5 separate regions of the Homo sapiens genome follow, and all the other regions are linked to region 4. Evidence: promoter capture Hi-C in 16 types of primary human blood cells and fetal thymus (Javierre and others, 2016). All regions are on one chromosome and are shown on one strand. The core of a region is centred on a gene start or on the middle of the fragment in contact, and the rest is flanking DNA. Distances in the headings are between cores, read along the strand shown. Region 1 overlaps CPNE5 (copine 5). Region 2 overlaps CPNE5 (copine 5). Region 3 holds the start of CPNE5 (copine 5). Region 4 holds the start of FGD2 (FYVE, RhoGEF and PH domain containing 2). Region 5 overlaps TMEM217B (transmembrane protein 217B).

Evidence for each region. Contacts are between HindIII fragments. The CHiCAGO score rates a contact against its expected background, and 5 or more counts as called.
Region 1: a contact is called between a fragment that was not itself captured here and the fragment with the promoter of FGD2 in region 4, in 3 of 17 cell types (erythroblasts, activated CD4 T cells and endothelial precursors). The highest score is 6.6, in erythroblasts.
Region 2: a fragment that was not itself captured here is called in contact with the fragment with the promoter of FGD2 in region 4 in 5 of 17 cell types (erythroblasts, M0 macrophages, M1 macrophages and 2 more); the score reaches 7.7 in erythroblasts.
Region 3: a contact is called between the fragment with the promoter of CPNE5 here and the fragment with the promoter of FGD2 in region 4, in 17 of 17 cell types (erythroblasts, activated CD4 T cells, neutrophils and 14 more). The highest score is 18.8, in erythroblasts.
Region 5: a contact is called between a fragment that was not itself captured here and the fragment with the promoter of FGD2 in region 4, in 12 of 17 cell types (activated CD4 T cells, total CD8 T cells, naive CD4 T cells and 9 more). The highest score is 9.4, in activated CD4 T cells.

What each region holds. Positions count from the first base shown.
Region 1 is chr6:36,807,914-36,811,520 of GRCh38, reverse strand. The region is part of intron 3 of CPNE5 (copine 5); the gene reads left to right. Among named protein-coding and RNA genes, the nearest start is that of CPNE5, 30 kb to the left of the region's middle. RefSeq lists a silencer at 329-497. The HindIII fragment of the contact is 2,206 bases long and covers 529-2,734 here.
Region 2 is chr6:36,756,621-36,760,272 of GRCh38, reverse strand. All of the region lies in intron 12 of CPNE5 (copine 5), which reads left to right. Among named protein-coding and RNA genes, the nearest start is that of RAB44, 61 kb to the right of the region's middle. RefSeq lists enhancers at 33-1,001, 837-1,026. The HindIII fragment of the contact is 2,341 bases long and covers 1,104-3,444 here.
Region 3 is chr6:36,837,515-36,841,448 of GRCh38, reverse strand. It overlaps CPNE5 (copine 5), which reads left to right and starts at 2,005. Exons shown (of 21, transcript NM_020939.2): 1 at 2,005-2,166. The coding sequence starts at 2,072. RefSeq lists an enhancer at 97-647 and a silencer at 1,332-1,541. The HindIII fragment of the contact is 11,867 bases long and covers 492-3,934 here.
Region 4 is chr6:37,004,405-37,008,288 of GRCh38, reverse strand. It overlaps FGD2 (FYVE, RhoGEF and PH domain containing 2), which reads right to left and starts at 2,634. Exons shown (of 16, transcript NM_173558.4): 1 at 2,404-2,634. The coding sequence starts at 2,471. RefSeq lists enhancers at 499-668, 2,489-2,618 and a silencer at 2,874-3,036. The HindIII fragment of the contact is 9,965 bases long and covers 1-3,884 here.
Region 5 is chr6:37,234,975-37,238,650 of GRCh38, reverse strand. All of the region lies in intron 1 of TMEM217B (transmembrane protein 217B), which reads left to right. All of the region lies in intron 1 of TMEM217 (transmembrane protein 217), which reads left to right. Among named protein-coding and RNA genes, the nearest start is that of TBC1D22B, 21 kb to the left of the region's middle. The HindIII fragment of the contact is 2,392 bases long and covers 1,096-3,487 here.

The DNA.
Region 1 (3,607 bases), core at 382-2,881, 200 kb after region 4:
TTAAAAATGGGCCCACCACCTGCCCAGGTGGGGGATCTTGGCCAAGCACTTAGGCTCACAAGCCTACTGTGAGGAGTAAATAAGCTAATTCGTGTAAAGTGCCTGGCCTGCAGAAAAAGCTCAATAATGGCTCTTCTTATAAGAAGCCCTAAGTAAGAAACCAATGCTTTATCTGGAGGAAGGAACCATTGACAGTATCATTTCAGACATCGTGATGCCATTTGGCAGGAGCTATCGATGTTTTGGAGTGAGCTGGGGGACAAGTCCCAGGGCCCCCTCCATGATGCTTGGCTTCCTTTAGGGTGGGGACTGCTCAGGCCCCCCACCCTCTACAGTCAGACCCGGGGCTAGAAGGCTGGGGGTGGGGACAAGGTGGTGGAGAGTGTTTTGTTGGCAGCTTGGCAGCCAGGCTCATTGGTAAAGGGTCGTTCCCCGTTCCCCGAGGAGCTGGGATGATTGAACAGATTATCTGAAACAATGGCTAATTAGGAACTAAGCTTTTTGGCAGGAAGTCTTTCATTCTAAGCTTGGTAAAGTTTCATACCCTGACCCTGGTCTCTGGGCGAGATAGGGAGGCTTCTCTGACCAGGCTTGAGAACAGGGAGGCCTTTAGAGCCTGGGCTTCCCTAACTCAGGGCCCCTGTCTCCACCTCTGCCCTGCCTTACCTGGAAGCCTTAACAAAACAGGCAGCCATTTGGGAGGTCACCAGGCCTACGAAACGAAAGGTGCCAAGGTCATGGCTCACTCCCTGTAATTTTAGGCAAGCCCCATCTCTCTCTGGGCCTGGTTTTCCTCACTGCAACGAGGAGGGGTGGCCACAGAATTCTGGACTCCTTCAGTGACAGAACCAGAGAGAACTTTCCAGACCCAAGATGGTGCAGGCCTGGCATGGCCAGATCCTCCGTGCTCCTCCGCCTCCCCAGGCCCTCCTTTCCTGTCCCCAGATCTCAGGCCACTCTTCCCAGCCACTGGGCGCCCCCACCTGGCTCCTATTCCCAGGGCCAGCCTTGGAAAGCACATTCCCTTTTTCCGTTTCTATTTGAGTCAGGTAGCTTTCTGGCCTCTAATTTTAATCCTAGTGAACATGATTCATGAGGGGCCAGGGCTGGGCTCTGCAGCGAGGCTTTTAGAATCCCCAATTAAGGAGCCATCAATAATATATGAAAAGTATTGAGGGATCTACGGCTGGGGAAGGGTGAGCAGCTTGTGAGGTAGACAGCAGTCTGTCAGCTCCAGCCTCCTATCCCACCGGCACAGCCCCTGGGGGCTTTGCAGCTGGGGGATGGCTCCGAAGCTCAATCCAGCTGTAATTTGTAAAAAGGCAAGAGCTGCCTAAATCCAGGGCCATGAAGATTGTTCAGGCTTGCAGAGAGCCACCCACGCATGCCTGAGGTAGGGGCTGTGGTGAGCACCAGGGATGCTCTGCCTTTCTCACTCCTGAGAGTCCCGGCCCTTCCTCGCCCACCATGGGTTGCCTCTGGGAGGGCTTCTCTGGCCTCCAAGAGCTCCGTTCTTTCATCGGTAAAGTGGAGATGATAATAATTTCATTGTCACGGGGTCATTGGAGGGGGTTAAATGAGATCGTGGATGTATGGAAGTGTTTCAAAGTTGAGAAGTCAGGATACCAAGCAGAAGGAGGAGGAGGAGGATCGGGTGGAAGGGAGAAACCTGAGCAGGGATGTCCACAGGCTTCTGGGTGAACCAGGGCTCCACTCAGCGCTGGGAGCCCCACTGGCTGGGGTACCCGTCAGCATCCATTTCCTAATGAGCTGTGTGACCGTGGTCAGAACAGCCCCCCTCCCACCTTCTCTGCCTTTGTTTTCTCATGTGTTAATTGAGAGGATTTGGTTTCTTCCAGCTCTAAAATCAGGTCCTAAGTCAATTTGATTTTTTTTTTGGTTGTTGTTTTGGCTTTTTGTTGTTGTTGTTTGTTTTTTTGTTTTTGAGACAGCGTCGTGCTCTGTCGCCCAGGCTGGAGTGCAGTGGCACAATCACGGCTCACTGCAGCCTCAATCTCCTGGGCTCAATTGACCCTTCTGCCTCAGCCTCCCAAGTAGCTGGGACTACAGACGTGTGCTTCCATGCCTGGCTAATTTTCTTATTTTTTGTGGAGATGGGATCTCACTATGTTGCCCAGGTTGGTCTCGAACTCCTAGGTTCAAGCGATCCTCCTGCCTCCCAAAGTGCTGCCCAACTTGTTAACATTTTTAAAAGGAAATCACAGGAGGGTTGAGGACTCTTTCTCTCCTCCTCCTCTCTCTCTCTCAATCTCTCTCTCTCTCTGTCTCTCCCTTCCTCTCTCTCTCTCCTCTCTCTCTCTCTGCGTAGGGGCTGCAAGGGGAGGGATAGAGGTTGGGCAGGGTGTTAGGTCAGGGACACTCACATTATGACCTGATCTGTGGGTCCACCCAGACCCACAGGGAGTGTTAACAAGGGAGCAGGCACAGTAATCCCAGAAGTTCAGAGACTGCGCTAGGGAGTAGAGAAACTACAGGGCTGAAAACTGTCAGACCTAGTCCCAGCCTCCATTCACAGCATAAGCCTCTTACTGAATAGTGACTATATCAACTCCTTATTGATTTGGAGCCAGCCAGCCTGGGTTTGAATCCCGTTCCTATCGCCTGCTAGCTGTGTGACCTTGGGCAAGTCTCTCAATCTCTCTGAGCCTTATCTTAATTTACTTATCTGTAAAGTGGGGATAATAGTTCTGCTTCGGAAGGTTGTTATGAAGCTTAAATGAATGACCTTATGGATAACACTTAGTGCGTGGCACGCAGTAGGGCTCTGTGAGGGTTACTATCAGTATTGGAGACCAGCTCTGCAACAGACACTCCCTGCATGTCCCTTCTGTCCTCCATCTGGAGGAAGGAATGATTTACTCTGTTTAAGCAACAGGGAGGTACACCCTCTCAGGGGGTGTCTCAGGCAGATCGTAAGCAACACAAGGCAGGCCTGGGAGGGTCCTGGGCCCTCCCTGGCCCTGGGCCCCAATGTTCTGCAGCCATGGGCATTTGTGGGGAGTTGACTCACGTGCCGGGAGATGTCCTTGTGCTGTCTGTTGCTGCCTCCCAGCTGGTGGGTGATGAGGAGGAAGAAGGGGCCCAGATTTTAGAAATCTGGAAGCAGGTTGAGCACAGTGGCTCATGCCTGTAATCCCAGCACTTTGTGAGGCCGACGGTTGGGGGTGGATTACCTGAGGTCAGGAGTTCGAGACCAGCCTGGTCAACATGGCCAAACCCCGCCTCTACTAAAAATACAAAACTTAGCCAGGCGTGGTGGCAGGCACGTGTAATCCCAGCTACTGGGGAGGCTGAGGCGGGAGAATCACTTGAACACAGGAGGCAGAGGTTGCAGTGAGCCAAGATCGCGCCACTGCACTCCAGCCTGGGCAACAAGAGCAAAACTCCTCTCAAAAAAAAAAGAAAAAAGAAAAGAAATCTGGAAGCAACAGAGAGGGCACCTCTTCCTGGGCTGCCTTTCTCTCCACATCCTAGTCCATGATCAGAGGCTGAGCGGGCGACCTCTCTCCTTTACTTTCACTACGTGGCTTCCATGCCCAAGGGCTCCTCCTGCCTTTTGTTTCCTTCCCTGCTGGTGGCCACAGTG
Region 2 (3,652 bases), core at 1,025-3,524, 250 kb after region 4:
TGTTTCCCCAGCCAGCCACCCGCAATCTGTGTATGCGTGCTTTTTTTTTTTTTTTAAGATGGAGTCTCATTCTCACCCAGGCTGGAGTGCAGTGGCACAATCTCGGCTTACTGCAACCTCCACCTCTACTTCCAGGCTCTAGCTATCCTCCCACCTCAGTCTCCCAAGTAGCTGGGACCACAGGCACACACCACCACCCTGGCGATTTTTTTTTTTTTTTGCATTTTTGGTAGAGATGGGTTTTTGCCATGTTGCCCAGTCTGGCCTCCAACTCCTGAGCTCAGGTGATGCACCCGCCTCGGCCTTGCAAAGTGCTGGGATTTCAGGTGTGAGCCACCACGCCTGGCTGTGCATGTAAATAAAAACACACATCACATGCCTTTGGAGGCCCCTAGGAGCTGGCCCCTGCCCCTTCCCTCTGCCCATTCCCACATTCATCCCCGTCCTGCCACCTGAGGCTCTCTGAACCTCCGTGCTGTCTCAGCCTCCAGGGCTCGATTCATATGGGTGCCTCCACCTGAGACTCCCTCTTGTCTTCTCCTGGGTAGGAGCTATTGGTCCACGGAGCCTCCCTGTGGGTGTTCCTCCTCCAGGAAGTTGTGTCCACCTGCACACCCGCCCCACCCCAGAGCCTGGAGTGGACACTTGTCAGTGCTCCTGGGGTTCCTTCTGGCTATTTTCTGTTTTGTGACACTATTCAACCCCTCAAAGACCTTGAAGTCCTCAGGGTGGGGGTTGTGTTGCACTTACTGCTGCATCCCCAGAGCCAGCACAGCTCCTGGCCCCTAGGAGCCCCTCAGTGCCCCCACCCACCCCACCTAATGTGCGCAGGAGGGCAGATTCCAGACCTGTCCTGTCCCCGCCTGACCACCAAGAAGAAGGGAGGTGACTTAGTGGAGGGGCAGCTCCTCGGCTGGCCCCTAGGTGGCGCTGGCCCCCTGCATGGGATTCACCGTGGCGGGGCTGGAGAGGCTGAGGCTGGGAGCATGAAACCTCAGGGTAAACAGGGATCTGAGAACAGAACATTGCTTTAACATTAAAGCAGTTATATCAGAGAGTGGAAATGTGGAATACAGGCTAATTTAAAGATAACATAGAAAGCTTAGAAGAAACATGCTTGTGGCCAAATCTTTGGTTACTCTCAGGACTCCGGGTTCATTCTCCCCAGCTGGGAGGGCTATGTTGGAGCAAAAGTTTGAGATGCTGTCCATTCCGATAGTTCAACACCCTCAAGGGAGAGATTGGGAAACTGAGGCACAGTGCAGCACTGGGGCTGCCATTTTGCCCTCATCTTAACAGCTTGCCTACTTAAGCTGTTTTCCCATGAATGTGTCCGTGAGCACCTCACCATCTGGGTAACCCCGTGGAGGGGGCGTCCTCCAGTGCTAAAGAGGGTGCTCTGGTCTTCTCTCCCGGGCTCTCTCACCATCTCGCCCAGGCCCTCAGTTTCTACCTGCACAGCTTGCCAGACCTCCCACGTGAACTTCCCACCTGTGCCCCAAATCCAGCGCCTTCCTTCTGTGTCTACCTGGTCACCCCAACCCCTCCCTCTCTCGAACCTCTATAGCCACGCCCAGGGCCCAAGAGGCGTGGTCACTTCTTGACAGCGCTGTTCTCACCATAGCTCAGCACCTGTCCCAATACCCCCAAGTCCTCATGACCTCTCGCATGGACTTATGGTGGCAGTAATAATAGTAGTAGTAATTTTGAAAAATAGCAACTAAGGCTGGGTGCAGTGGCTCACGCCTGTAATCCCAACACTCTGGGAGACTGAGGCAGGAGGATTGCTTGAGCCCAAGAGTTTGAGACCAGCCAGAGTAACATAGCGAGATCCTATCTCTACCAAAAAAAAAAAAATAGCCAGACATGGTGGCAGCTACCTGGAAGGATTGCTTGAGCCCGGGAGGTTGAGGCCACAGTGAGCTATGACCCCACCACTGCACTCCAGCCTGGGCCATAGAGCAAGACCCCGTCTTAGAAAAAAGCAACAGACACGTATAGATAATACTTACTACATTCCAAACTGTTCTAGGCACTTTGCTTGCATTGGCCCATTTAATCCTCATACCTTTCCGGGAGGCAGGTACTTCTTATTCCCATTTTAGAGATGAGGAGACTGAGGCACATTGAGGTTAAGTAACCTGCCTAAGGTCACACAGCTATTATTAGGTGGCAGAACTAGGCAAATATTTCCTGGATGAGCCTCCTCCTCCCCTCACACTCACCTCCACCAGGCCCCAGTGTCCTAGAGCCTGCTCTGATTTTGTCTCCTACCAGCTTGGGGGTCATCAGAGTTCCCTGCAGGCCGCTGGGTGACATTCAGACATTTTTCACTGGGCATTCTAGGCTCTCCTCCAACCAGCCCAGCTTACTCTTCCACCCTGTGGTTCTGCCATCAAACTGGGCCTGGGTTCTATTCATTTCTCCCACAGAACCTCCTCTGACATCCATCTCTCCGTGCCCAGAGCCTTCCTGTGCCTCTAAGTCTGCCTTCAAGACTTCCTGCTCCAGAGAGGCTTTGCTGACACTCTCACCTAGAGTGGTCTTTCCTTCCTCTAACTCCCCTGACACTTCTGTGATCCCCCTTGTTCCATGGCCCTTGTCACTTTTTGCCCTGAGGACATATCTTCTCTCTCCAACATAGGTGATAGATGATTCCAGGGGAGAAGCAATATATGTCTCCACCCACCCCATAAATGTATGTCAAAGAGATCTGTTTGTATCTGTTATCAAGGTGGCACCAATGTATGCACCACTGGCCCGGGGGCAGGAAACCTGGTTTCTAATCCTGTCACTACCCAGATGGCTGTGTGACTTTAGGCAAATCACCTGGTGTCGCTGTGCTTTAGTTTCCTTCTTGCTGGAAGTAGATAGCAATACTCACCCAGACAGAAGAGACCACGGTAAAGATCAGCTGACGGCCTCTGTGGGAACAAAGACAGGGAAAGGGGAAATGAGTTCACCAGAAACCAACAGGCAGCACAGGAGGTATGAAAATTGCCTGGCTTTGTTTGATGGGACATTAGGGAAAAGTTGTGCCTAGACTTCCCTTATTAAAAACAAAACAAAGAAAAACTGGCGAGGGTCAAATGAGAATACAAATACAGTAAGTGCGGAAGTCTCGTGGGGGGCCTCAGGGCTGGGTGGCTCTCGTCACTTTGCCCAGTCTTGGCCTTGGCACTACTGGGATTTGGGACTGCATCACTCCCTGCCGTGGGAGGCTGTCTTGTGTACTGTAGGATGTTTAGCAGCATGCCTGGCCTCTACTCACCCCCTCAGTTGTGGAAACCAAAACCGTCTCCAGATGTTACCAAACGTTCCTGGGGGTAAAATCGCCCCTGGTTGAGACCGCTGAGTTAGCCACCAACAAGCCTTCTCTGAGCACCTACTCTGAGCCTAGCCCCATGATTTATCTGACACAGGTCTGGTTTGGAAGTTAAAGCTTACACTCAAAGAATAGCTAAAGAGGTTCTTGCTGCCAAGTAAGAGGGATGGTGATGGAGAGGGGAGCCTCAGAGGCCCTGGGCAGCCCTTGGGCTGGGTCCCAAAGGAGGAACAGGGGAGATTGGAATTGGCTGAGAGAGGAAGGGGGTGCATTTTTGGTGAGGGGAGCAGCCTCAACCAACACAAGGGACAGGTACAGATAGGGCCG
Region 3 (3,934 bases), core at 756-3,255, 170 kb after region 4:
AATGGAGAACATATTCCACAAGCATGCTTTGAGCATTGTTTATGCCAGGTATGTGGGGGATGGGGAACATAGAGATTCCGAGTTCAGTTTTGCATCCTCAGGAAGGGAAGACAGAATTATTCTCCTTGGAGTGGGGCCTCCTGACCCAGCTGTGCCTGGCTGTCAGGGGAATTAACAGCCTCTGTCCCTTGCTGCCTGTTCCAGGAGGCAGAACCCAGTCCAGCTGATTCTGAGCCATGGGGAAATTGTAACAGGCAGAGGAATGTGTTCTTGTATTTATCTTTGACTGACAGTATCTGATGTTCCAGGAATTGACTTCAAACAGAATCCGGAGGAGCCCCTTATGGTCCCGCTGCCACAAACAAGGCCCAGAGAGCGCAACTCTGCCCAGCCCAGCACCAGGTTTTTGGCCTCCCCGCCGGCCCGAGGCACATCGGCTTCGATGTGCCAGGCGGTGGGCGAGGAAGTGGAGGTTCCAGCTCGGCAAAGCTTAGGCTGAGGCTGAGGATGGGCTAGAGTCAAGTCTACGTGTGCAGCCTTACTCAGGGAGACGCCTCTGCGCTGCAACCTCATGCCCGGGAGGGCAAGGCTGGGCTAGGGCGGGGGATCGCGAGGGGCTTGGCTGGGAAGAGGACTGCAGGAGAGGTGTCCCAACTCTCCCCTCGCTCGCCAGGCACACAGCACGCGCCTACTCGGTGCTGGCTGCATAGAAGCCCAGGGAGCTCGGGCCGATCTCCCAGTCTGGTTGCCACCAGACTGGGTGGCAGGAGCTTCTAGACCTGGAGGCTGGCTCAGTCGTGTGGTCACGACGGGCGGGGGAGTGGAAGGGCGCTGGCGCGTGGTTTCGGCAGCCGACTTGGCGAGGCCGCGGCTGGCGGGAACCACGGATGGGGGAGGCGCCCATGCACCGACCCCACCTGGGCCACTGGGAAACCGAGGTAGTCCCTCCTGGCACTGGGGTCGCCCCCACACACCTCCCCAGAAGGAGATGTAGGGTCTGTTTCTGAACTGAGACCCGCCCCCGAGTAGGGCGCACACTCAGCAGAGACCCTCCACACCCAAGCCCCTGGGAGGGGATCTTTTTTGCACACCTCCCTCCCACTTATGCCCCCTCTCAACCCTGCATAGACCTTTCTCAAAAAGGCGCCCGTTGGTTCCCATAACCCTCCCCCTCCCCCAGGATGGAGACCCCTGATGGGAGATAGGGGTGGTGAGAGGGGGCGGGCGCAAATGAAGATGCGCGCGACCAGGACCACCTCTTGCTGTCACCCGCCACGTCCCCAGCATCTGGACCGCGTCCCCCGGCCCGCCACGCGCGCACACACACACACACGCGCACACACACACGCTCACACTCACCCTGCGCGCAGACCCCGCCCGCGGCCCCGCCCCGGCCCCTGCGGGCGCCCCCTCTGGCGTTCCCGGGCGGCGGGAGGCTGCGGCTTCGGGCAGATTTGATTTTCCCGCAGCCCGGGCGCCCCGGAGCCGAAGCCCGAGCCGAGGAGGTGGCGCTCGCAGCCGCGTCTCAGCCCCGTCGCCGCCGGCGCCAAGACCCAGGGAGAGGCGGCGCAGCCCGGGCGCTCGGGCTCCGCGCTGCCGGCGCCCCGCCACCCCCGCCGCCAGCGCCCCATCCGGCGCCTCCCGCTCCTCACGCCCCTCTCCCTGTCTTCTGCATCCCCTCTACCTCTGCCCACAGACGCGCGTCCCTCTCCTGGTGCCCCTCTCCACGACTCCGCGTTTCCCTCCCGGTGCCCTCTCCCCGAGCCCCTCTCCCCGCGCCCCTCTCTGCCTTCCCCGCTGTGCCCCCGCTCCCTGGGCTCCTTGCCCTTCCCCACTGGGCCCCTAGCCTCCTCGCGGCGTCACCCGAGCCCCCTCCTCGATCCGCGGCCCCCGCTCCCTCCGCCCTCTTCCCTCTCTCACTTCCCACGCCCCCTCTTCGCGCTCCTCTCTCCTCCCCTTGCCGCCCAGCCCAGGCTCTGGAGTTGGGGGAGAGCCCAGGGCTCCAGTCGCTCCGGAGGAGGCGTGAATCGCGCAGGGATTGACTAATTTGGGGTGGGGGGTGCGGTGGGCGATGGAGCAGCCTGAGGACATGGCGTCGCTGAGCGAGTTCGACTCCTTGGCGGGCAGCATCCCGGCCACCAAGGTGGAGATCACCGTGTCCTGCAGGTGAGCCTCCCGCTGGCCGGGTCCCCTTGCCCCGGCCCTGGACGCAGAGCCCCGCGGCCCCTGCCGCTTCGATCCTAAACCTCCGCGCGCCCCCTTCCCAGAGTGTCCTGGTCTCCAGGACTGCGCCCCTGCCGATCTGCCAAGAGCCCCTGTCCTGTCCAGCTGCGGGTGGCGACGGCAGAATAGGAAGCCAGGCTGGGGTCATATCCCAGAAAGTTTGCGCTCCAGGCTGTTGCATCGAGGAGATATGAAGACACAGGAACAGGGGGTCCAGGCACCCAAGTGGGGAGAGGGAGTTGGTAAAAGGCTGTACTACGGTCTCTGCTCAGGCTATCTCTGATCACCCCATCCCCAAATCACGAAGTGAGTGATTTGCCCCCATCCCTCCCAGGCTCGTCCACCCTCTCCCTTCTGTGCCCTCCTCTCTTCTCTCTTTGCCCCTTCTTTGCCCCAGCATCCTGATCCTCCCCTCACCAGTCTCCCCCACCCCACTGTCCTAGACTCTAGGATTTTAAAGCCTTCCTTCATCTCTATCAACAACGAAATCGACTCCTGGAAAAGGATCAGATTGACTCATTCATACTAAGGTGTGGATACATGATAACAACTTAAAGTGGCACCATTAAAAAAATAACTTGGGTCAAAAATCTTAAGCCAAAGGAATAGAACACTGATTGTGAAACTGTAGAGTCCAACAGAGGAGGAGGGGGAATATTTTTGTGGGCTACCACGCCCAAATCTTCACTCATGTCACACAGGGTTTGGGGGTAACTTCTCTGTCTAAGAGCTGGGTCGACCCCAGGTTCTCCTAGCTAGGGGAAGGCTGCCCCTGGCAGTAAGAGGGTATGGGTGGCAAAGGGGGATTTTTCCCTAGTTCAGTCTCTCTGTGGCTGGCCTAGGATCATGTGCTGCCACGCAAGCATCACCCACTTTGAGGTTCCCCCACAGAGGCCATGCCCCCTGCCCCAGATCACCGACAGCATTTCTGGAGCCCTGGCTGTGCCCTTGTTCGAAATCACCCATCTCATCCTCTTCCAGGTTGCTCCTTGGTCAGACCCTCCATGAGAGGTAACCTTGTTGCCCCCCAGTCCTGTATTACAAAGTTGTGGCATTGATGAGGTGTAGGTAGAGCTGGAGAGTCTGGGCAGGGGCGTGAAGGAGGGAAGGACTCAGTGTGACTTTCTCTTGAAGACTTGGGGATAAGTGGCAGTGAAGGCTAGTCTGGTTGAACGTAGCTTCCCCCCTAAGCCAGGCCCTCTGGGGGCTCCTGTGATAGCTCCCAGGTCCCATACACCATGCCGTCAGGATCATCTCCCAACGCCATTTGCATCTTGTCATTACTCTGCTGGGAGATTCCTGATGGCCCATTAGCTCCAGTCTCACCTCCTCAGCCATCAAAAGCAGCACGGCCTCCCCACCCTTCTCCTGCACGCACATCCCTGCGCCTGGCACTCCCTCCCAGCCTTCAATCATGCCTGTCATCTTCAGTTGTCTTGGGATCCTTCCCACCTCCAAGCCTCTGAACAGCCCATTCCCCATCCAGATTTCACTCTTCCTTTATCTCCCCAAGTTCATGATCCCCCCACTCCTGAAAAGCCTGGCCTCACGCTCCCCACTTTCAGGCATCCTCTCACCCATGAGACACACAGCTCAAATCATTGTCTTCTGTGTCCCGTGGGCCCTAGGTACTCAGCCTGGGCCACAGGGTCACTCACATACTGAGGATGAAACCTCTTGAGACGTCTCAGGTGTGCAGACGTCATCCCTC
Region 4 (3,884 bases), core at 1,385-3,884:
TACCCTGTGTACTGGGTTCTGCAAGCCAGTCAAATTCCTTAGACAACAGGGCCCACCCTTGATGAATACACCCAACGTTGCCCTTGGTGTGGAAGGGCTTGTGATGACAGAACAGGGCAGGCATCCTTATGAGAAAGACAGGCCAGGAAATGGAAGGCCAAACAAATACGAAATCTCCAAAACTCCGTGAGAAAGGTTTTCATTACCCATATTTTGCACTCAAGGAAACTGAGGTCTGGACAGGATGAGTAACATGCGGCTCGGAAGTGGCAGAGGTGGGATTCAAATCAGGCGACTGCTTCCTGAGCCTTCACTCTAACCTGCCCCTCCCCATTTGAGTAAAGGAGAAACAGGTCCGCGGAGTCAAAGTGACTTGCCCCAAGTGACACAATTGGGTTTGTGGCAGCGAAAGCATTGGGACCTAGTGCTGTGTGGCTACTCCCAGGCTCTCCCACCCCTCCCTGGCACCCCAGTCCCTGGTTTCTCAGCCCATGGGTCTGCAGCTCATGGGCGTAGCTGGTTCTCAGGCTTTCTGTTCTACATTTGGTTTCAGGTTCTGCATTTCTGTTCTAGGGCCCCTGGCCAGCTTCTGTTTCCTCTTTGCCCCTCAGTTTCAGATCAGCTGAGGTGCTGGAGACCTCATAAGGAAGCCCAGGCCAAGGCAGTTGGTATGGGTCCCCTCACTCAGTAAGGAGTGGCTCTCACCCTCTTGATGCCTGCTGGGACCTAACTCCCGTCTAAGGGCTGCCCACTCCTGCCAGGGTTATTGCCTGGGCAGAGCACAGCATGCTGAGGGGCTCCACCCAGGTGTGCCTAGTCCACGTCAAGCATGTTGAGTGAGGTGGTACCATCCACCCACACCCAAGGGGGTGGTGGGCCAGGAAGGCGGCACCCAAGAGCTGTCTTTGGTGCTGAACAGGACGAGCTTGGCAAAGATCCCGGGAGAGGCAGGGGAGAATCACCCAGCTCAGGAAGTTGAAGACTTCTAGGTCTACATCTATGCCATCTCCACCCTGAAGCCTACAGGAAACATTGCCTGCCATGAGTGCCCTCAATACAGCATCCGGGCCATTCCTAGGACATCTACTGTCTATGACCTTGCATCATAGTTATTCGATGAGCTCAGCATCCAAATACTGAAACCCTTCTTCATCCTCTACAGTTCCTGTAGGATGCTGTGCTGTGCCACCCATGTCCCTCCTTCAGGAATGAGGCCTCCCCACACCATCCCCACCAGCTACTGGTAGTACTGGGGGCTGCCGGGTAATTTATTGGCTGAGTCCCTCTCTGGGAATCACTCTCTGGAAGAGAGAGCTGCCTCACCCAGAGTCTCTTGTCCAGTCCACATGGAGATACAAATACCCAGCCCTCTTCCTCAGCTGGAACAACCGAGAGGCATCCCAGCTCCAGAGCTCCCTGGGACAGGCTGAGGCCTCTGTGGCAGGTGCACTGCAGTTCAGCATCTCCCCCTGCCCGGCCCTGCTTCCCTCACACCCACAGCTGTTGTTCCCAAAAGCTCTCCCTGATAAATCACCTGAGGCAAACCTCTGTCTGAGTCTATTTCCAGAAAACCCTACCTGGGACAGCCCCTAACACAGTCCTGAGCTTAAGAAATGCCTGCAGAATGGATTGATGCCACACATAACACACAACACACACATACACACACGCGCACACACACAAACACACATGCTCCCAGGGCTACCAATGACTCCACGCATCTGGCCCAGCCTTTTCCCTCCAGACAGACGCCCCAGCATTGCCCCAGATACTTAAAGCACTTGGCATCCTCACCTCTCTGTGTCTCCATTTCCTCATCTATAAGACGGGAACAGAAACAGAATCTACCCCTATTAGGCTGTTCGATGACTAAATTAAATAAGTAAGGACATGAACTTAGAGTAGGGAGTACCCCATCAGGATGCTGCCCGTACATCCTGGTTTGCCTCATACGGTCCCAGCTTTACCTGTAATGCCTCCCCCACAACCACCACATTTTATTTGGCATTTACTTTCAGTTTCAATTGTGTGCTGAATGATAAATTATATGGTTATCCTAATCATAGGGCGTAAATTCTTGGTGAGTATCAGCTACCTTTTCTGAGAGGTGCTGGCAGGCACTGGGTGGGGTCCTGTGCCCACACACAGGCTTTGGTCTGCCCATGCTTGCTCGTAACCACACCTGTCTGGACTCTCCCAACACACACTGGCACTCTCACCCCTGCCTGGCTCCTGGTGTCCCACCGACACTCTCCCATGCTCCAAGGAATCCGTGACCGAGGAACGCGGGGCTGCCCCTGCAGGAGGAGGGTCCGGGGCAGGGCCCAGGGAGAGAGCTGCCAGAAAGGCTGGAGGGTGGCTGCCAGCCCACCATGGTGACCCTCCCACCCCAGCTGCCCATACCTGCTATTCTCAAACACAGTGACCAGGTTGGACACAGATGCCAGCTTCTCCTCACTTGCCCCCTTCATCCTGCCGGTTTCCGGGGTGGATCTCAGCTACCCTCGAAGCAGAGAGAGAGGCCTCCAGCCAGCACACTCAGCCACGCTGGCCTGGGACAGATAGGCTAAATCACCCATGAATCTGTTCTGATCTTTCTTGAGGGCTCAGAAGGTCGGCTCTTGGCTTCAGAGTGAAGAAAGAGGAAGTGGTCCCAGAGCCACAGCCCTGCAGGGGAAAGGCCAGCACTCCCGCAGTGGGAGGAGCCTGCTCGGGCCCCACCTCTCCCTCAGGGGGGCTGACCTTTCACACCTGTAGACCCCCATTCCAGAAGCCACCTAAGAGGTGGCAACAGGGCCCAGAGGTAGCTTCTGGAGCCCAGTCTGGGCTGGTGCAGTGGTTTGCACCTCTAATTCCAGTGCTTTGGGAGGCCGAAGCAGGAGGATTGCTTGAGCCCAGGAGTTCAAGACCAACCTGGGCAACATAGTGAGACACCGTCTCTTAAAAAAAAAAAAAAAAAAAAAGGCCACCCGGAGCCAGACCCTTGGCTGGTTTCTTGGCCTAGTGGTTCCAGCCAACCACACTTTCTCCTTCAGAAGGTCCAGTGGCTTTTACTTGGCCTCTTTCCCAGCACCTTCTTTTCTGCATCTGCCCCTGCTCACAGCTGTAAGGAAATAATGTCTTTTTTATTCTTTAGAGACAGAGTGCGGTGGTGGGATCTCGGCTCACTGCACCCTCTGCCTCCCGGTTCAAGCGATTCTCCTGCCTCAGCCTCCTGAGTAGCCGGGATTACAGGGCCTGCCACCACGCCCTGCTAATTATTTGTATTTTTAGTAGAGATGGGGTTTCACCATGTTGCTCAGGCTGGTCTTGAACTCCTGGCCTCAGGTGATCCTCCTGCCTCGGCCTCCCAAAATTCTGGGATTACAGATGTGAGCCACTGTGCCTGGCCAGGAAACAGCATGTTTTATTTAAAATAATCACAAACCTGGTAAGGGTGGCAGGGAGTACTGTGATGTTCCCACCTCCCCACTGGGGTTCTCTCATTTTAGTTGTTGCTGTCATCACCTCATTGCCCCAAGGGAGGGCAGTTTCCTCCCTGAAACTCAGAGGATAATAATAGCTAACATGCACTCTTTTTCATGCTTATGAGTATTTTCTTATTAATCCTATAACAACCTCATGAGGTAGGTACTATTCCTATCCCCACTTTACATAGGAAGAAACAGAATCAGAGAGGTTAAGTAACTTGCCCAAGGTCACCCAGGAAGAATACAAGAGAAGTTGGATTTCCAAAGCAAAAGTGGGTGTCCTACAGTTCCAGCAAAGGTTCGTTGGGAGCCTGGATGACCATGTTCTTGCTGCTCCATCCCCAGGCCTCCCTGATCCCAGGACACTGGGTTGTCTTTGCCTGAGGCCTCCTTTACCACCTGGTCTCCCGGCCC
Region 5 (3,676 bases), core at 1,042-3,541, 230 kb before region 4:
AAAAGGAAGAAGTGAGAATGGTGCCAGCCACATCATCTTCTCTTACCAGGAAAGGCAAAAGTCTTCCTAGATCTTCCAGCAGGTTTCTGCTTATATGTCATTTGCTAGAACTGTGTGCCATGAACACCCTGGATACAAGCAAAAACCTGGAAAAGCACATATTTTGCCTGGGTCTGGGCTCATTGCCATCCTGAGAGAAAGCAGACTTCTGGTAGCAAAGAAGGTGGAAATAGGTATTGGGAAGGAAGCTAACGGTGTCTGCTACAACACAGCTTAATAAATAGTAGTTTTATATGCATAATAAATAGTAGCTACTCCTTGGCATAAAGTAAAAATAATGATAACAAAAATACTTACATAATTATATTGTGTAAGTGCTTACTATGTGCCAGGAACTGTTCTGAATGTTTTAAATATGTTAACTCATTTAATCTTCACAGCAATTTTGTGAGGTAAATGTTACTATCCTTGGTTTTTTTTTTTCAGTGTTTTTAATTCTACTTTATATACATACAATTAGATTGATCATAATCCCTGGTTCATGACATACCCTCATTGGTCCATGCATGGCTCTCTTTTGTTTACTTTTTAAATATTAGTTATTGTAAATAATATATAGACACCTTCAAATCCCCTGTCCAAAATAAAATTAGTGTCTGGTCAGCAATTTGCATCTGGCTGTATGGTACCCCCAACACATTTTACTTCCTCCCCTGGCCAAGGTGATCATCATCCAGAATTCTGAGCTCATTATCCTTCACTTTGCTTTTCATACAGTTTTAGAGTTTTCTTGCATCTATATAAAGTCCTAAAAATATGTGTGTGTAGTGTGTGTGTATATATATAGAGAAAGATGGTTGTTTTTAACTGTATGTCTTTAGTACTTTTTTCACTTGATATTACATTGTTAAGATTCTACCATATTGTTGTATGTTGCTACAGTTGTTCCTTTTGACTCCTGTTTAACACTCCCATTGTGCAAATATGTAGCAGTTTATTCATCCTGAAACCATTCTTTACTGAAGTGCCTATAACATTCTTATTGATTTTCTCTTTTCTGGTTATTAACTGGTCTAATTCTGTTACATTCAAGCTTTGCATATGATTCTAGCAGTTTTCCAATATCCTTTTTAATGTCTGCATGAAGTCCTGAATCTTCTGCAAGACTTGCAATAATTTCTTGCAAACGACTTGCCTTGTGTTGTGTGTTGTCAGATATTTACAGTGGGCTACCAGAGAGAGGCTGACCAATAAAGATTTTGACTTGATGGGGTCTTGGTGCACACAGAGAGCCCTTCATTTCAGCAAGGAGGAATGTTGCAGGACTGAGGGAGGCAGAGAATGTCAATTCACTTGTGAATATTTTCTTGTCATGATGACTTTTGTTTCCCTGGGCAACCTGGCAAATGCGGGAACTTTGATTGTGAACACTCAGATACTCAGAAGTCCCTACATCTTGGCAAATTCTTTAACACTTCTCCCACAAAAGGTAGAATCTAATTCCTCTCCCCTTGAATATGGCCTTGGTGACTCACTTCTAAAGAATAGTGTCCAGGAAACGTGTTGCTATGGGACTTCTGAGGCTAGAATAAGAAAAGGTGATACAGCTTCCATCTGGCTTGCTCTTTTTGGGACACTCATTCTGGAGAAGCCAGTCATCAGGCTGTGAAGGAGCCCAAAGGAGCCCACACAGAGAGACCATGGAGAAGCCCACATGGATGGGCACTGAGGCCTCCAACTGACAGCCAAGAGCAATCGCCAGGCATCTGAGTGAGTCTTCTAGGAGAGGCTACAAAGTTTGAGGAGAAGTAGCAAGTCATCCTGGACATGCCCTGTCTAAATTCCCCACAATGTACAAAATTAAGCTAACTGTGCTCTGTCTGAAGTCCTCACCCACAGAATCCATTCACATAATAAATGGTTATCTTATGCTACTAAGTTTTGGGGTAATTTGTTATAGAAATTAATAAAATTAGTAAAAAAAAAAATAGTACTGGCACATCCAATTTAAAGATGAGCAAACTGAGACTTGGAGAGAATAAATTCACAGTAAATGGTGAAGCCAAGATTGAAGCCTGGGCATTTGACTTGCAAATTTGCGGATCTCAACCTTGATACCCTCCCTATAATGGCCTATTATTCCCTTGCATTTTCAGGATATCCTTGGTTACTCAGAACACAACTAATTAGCTTACTCTCCCACCCCAGGATTGAACCTGGGAGGGCAATGCTACCACCAAAAAAATACACATGCTCATACTCTAAAAATAACCCACTCAGAAAGGGTTAAACTGAGCTGCAGATTGGCAAATGATAAATGCTTAGTTCAGGGCCTAAAAAACAAAGAGTATTTAAAAATAAATGGCCAGGCACAGTGGCTCATGCCTGTAATCCTAGCACTCGTGGGAGGCAGAGGTGGGAGAATCACTTGAGCCCAGGAGTTCAAGACCAGCCTGGGCAACATAGTGAGACCATGTCTCTGTTTTTTTAAATTGTTTTTAAATTAAAAATAAAATAAACACTACACACTTTTTTCAGTTCAAACACGATGATGTTAAAGTGGGATGAAAGGATAAAAATCAGCTTTATTTTACAATGTTTTGTTATGGTAATGATTTTTTATTTATCTAGCTTTATTTTTCTAGTATGAATATTTTAAACTCTACATAAAGATATTGCTGTGGTTTGAATGTGTTTGACCCCTCCAAAATTCATGTGTTGAAACTTAATCCCCATAGTGGTGGTATTAAGAGATAGGGACTTTGGGGAAGGGATTAAGTCATGAGGGTTCCTTCAAAATGGGTTAGTGCTTTATAAAAGGACTAGAGGGAACTAGTTTAGGTCCCCTTGCCCTTCTACTTTCCTCCCTGTGAGGACACAGCAACAAGGCGTCATCTTGGAAGCAGAGAGCAGTCCTCACCAGACACTAATGCCAGTGCCTTGATCTTGGACTTTCCAGCCTCCAGAACCATAAGAAATACATTAGGCCAGGCGTGGTGGCTCACGCCTGTAATCCCAGCACTTTGGGAGGCCAAGGTGGACGGATCACAAGGTCAGGAGATCGAGACCATCCTGGCTAACATGGTGAAACCCCATCTCTACTAAAAAATAGAAAAAATTAGCCAGGCGTGGTGGCGGGTGCCTGTAGTCCCAGCTACTCAGGAGGCTGAGGCAGGAGAATGGCGTGAACCTGGGAGGCGGAGCTTGCAGTGAGCCGAGATGGCACCACTGCACTCTAGCCTGGGCGACAGAGCAAGACTCTGTCTCAAAAAAAAATAATAATAAAAGAAATACATTTGTATTCTTTATATATTACCCAGTCTGTGGTGTTCTGTTATAGCAGCATAAATGGTCTAAGACAGATATCTTTAATTTAAAACAATTTAAAATGTTGCCAACATTCCAAGATGGAATTGGAATCACTTCCAATTGTGTAGTATTTGAAGTAATATATCATTTCCAGAAATTTTCACAAGTAAAAAAAGCTTTGTTCTATCCCCAGCTACTTCTCATGATAATGTTTTTAGCTCATGGTTTAGACTATGACAGAGTTATCCAGCTGTCCTTCCACATTGCCAGCTTTAACCATTTTGCAGTTAAGAAGATACTGTGTTTTTTAAAAAGCCACACCAGCATAAGGGTAGCCAGTGGGATTTATTTAATGATCTGGGTTTAT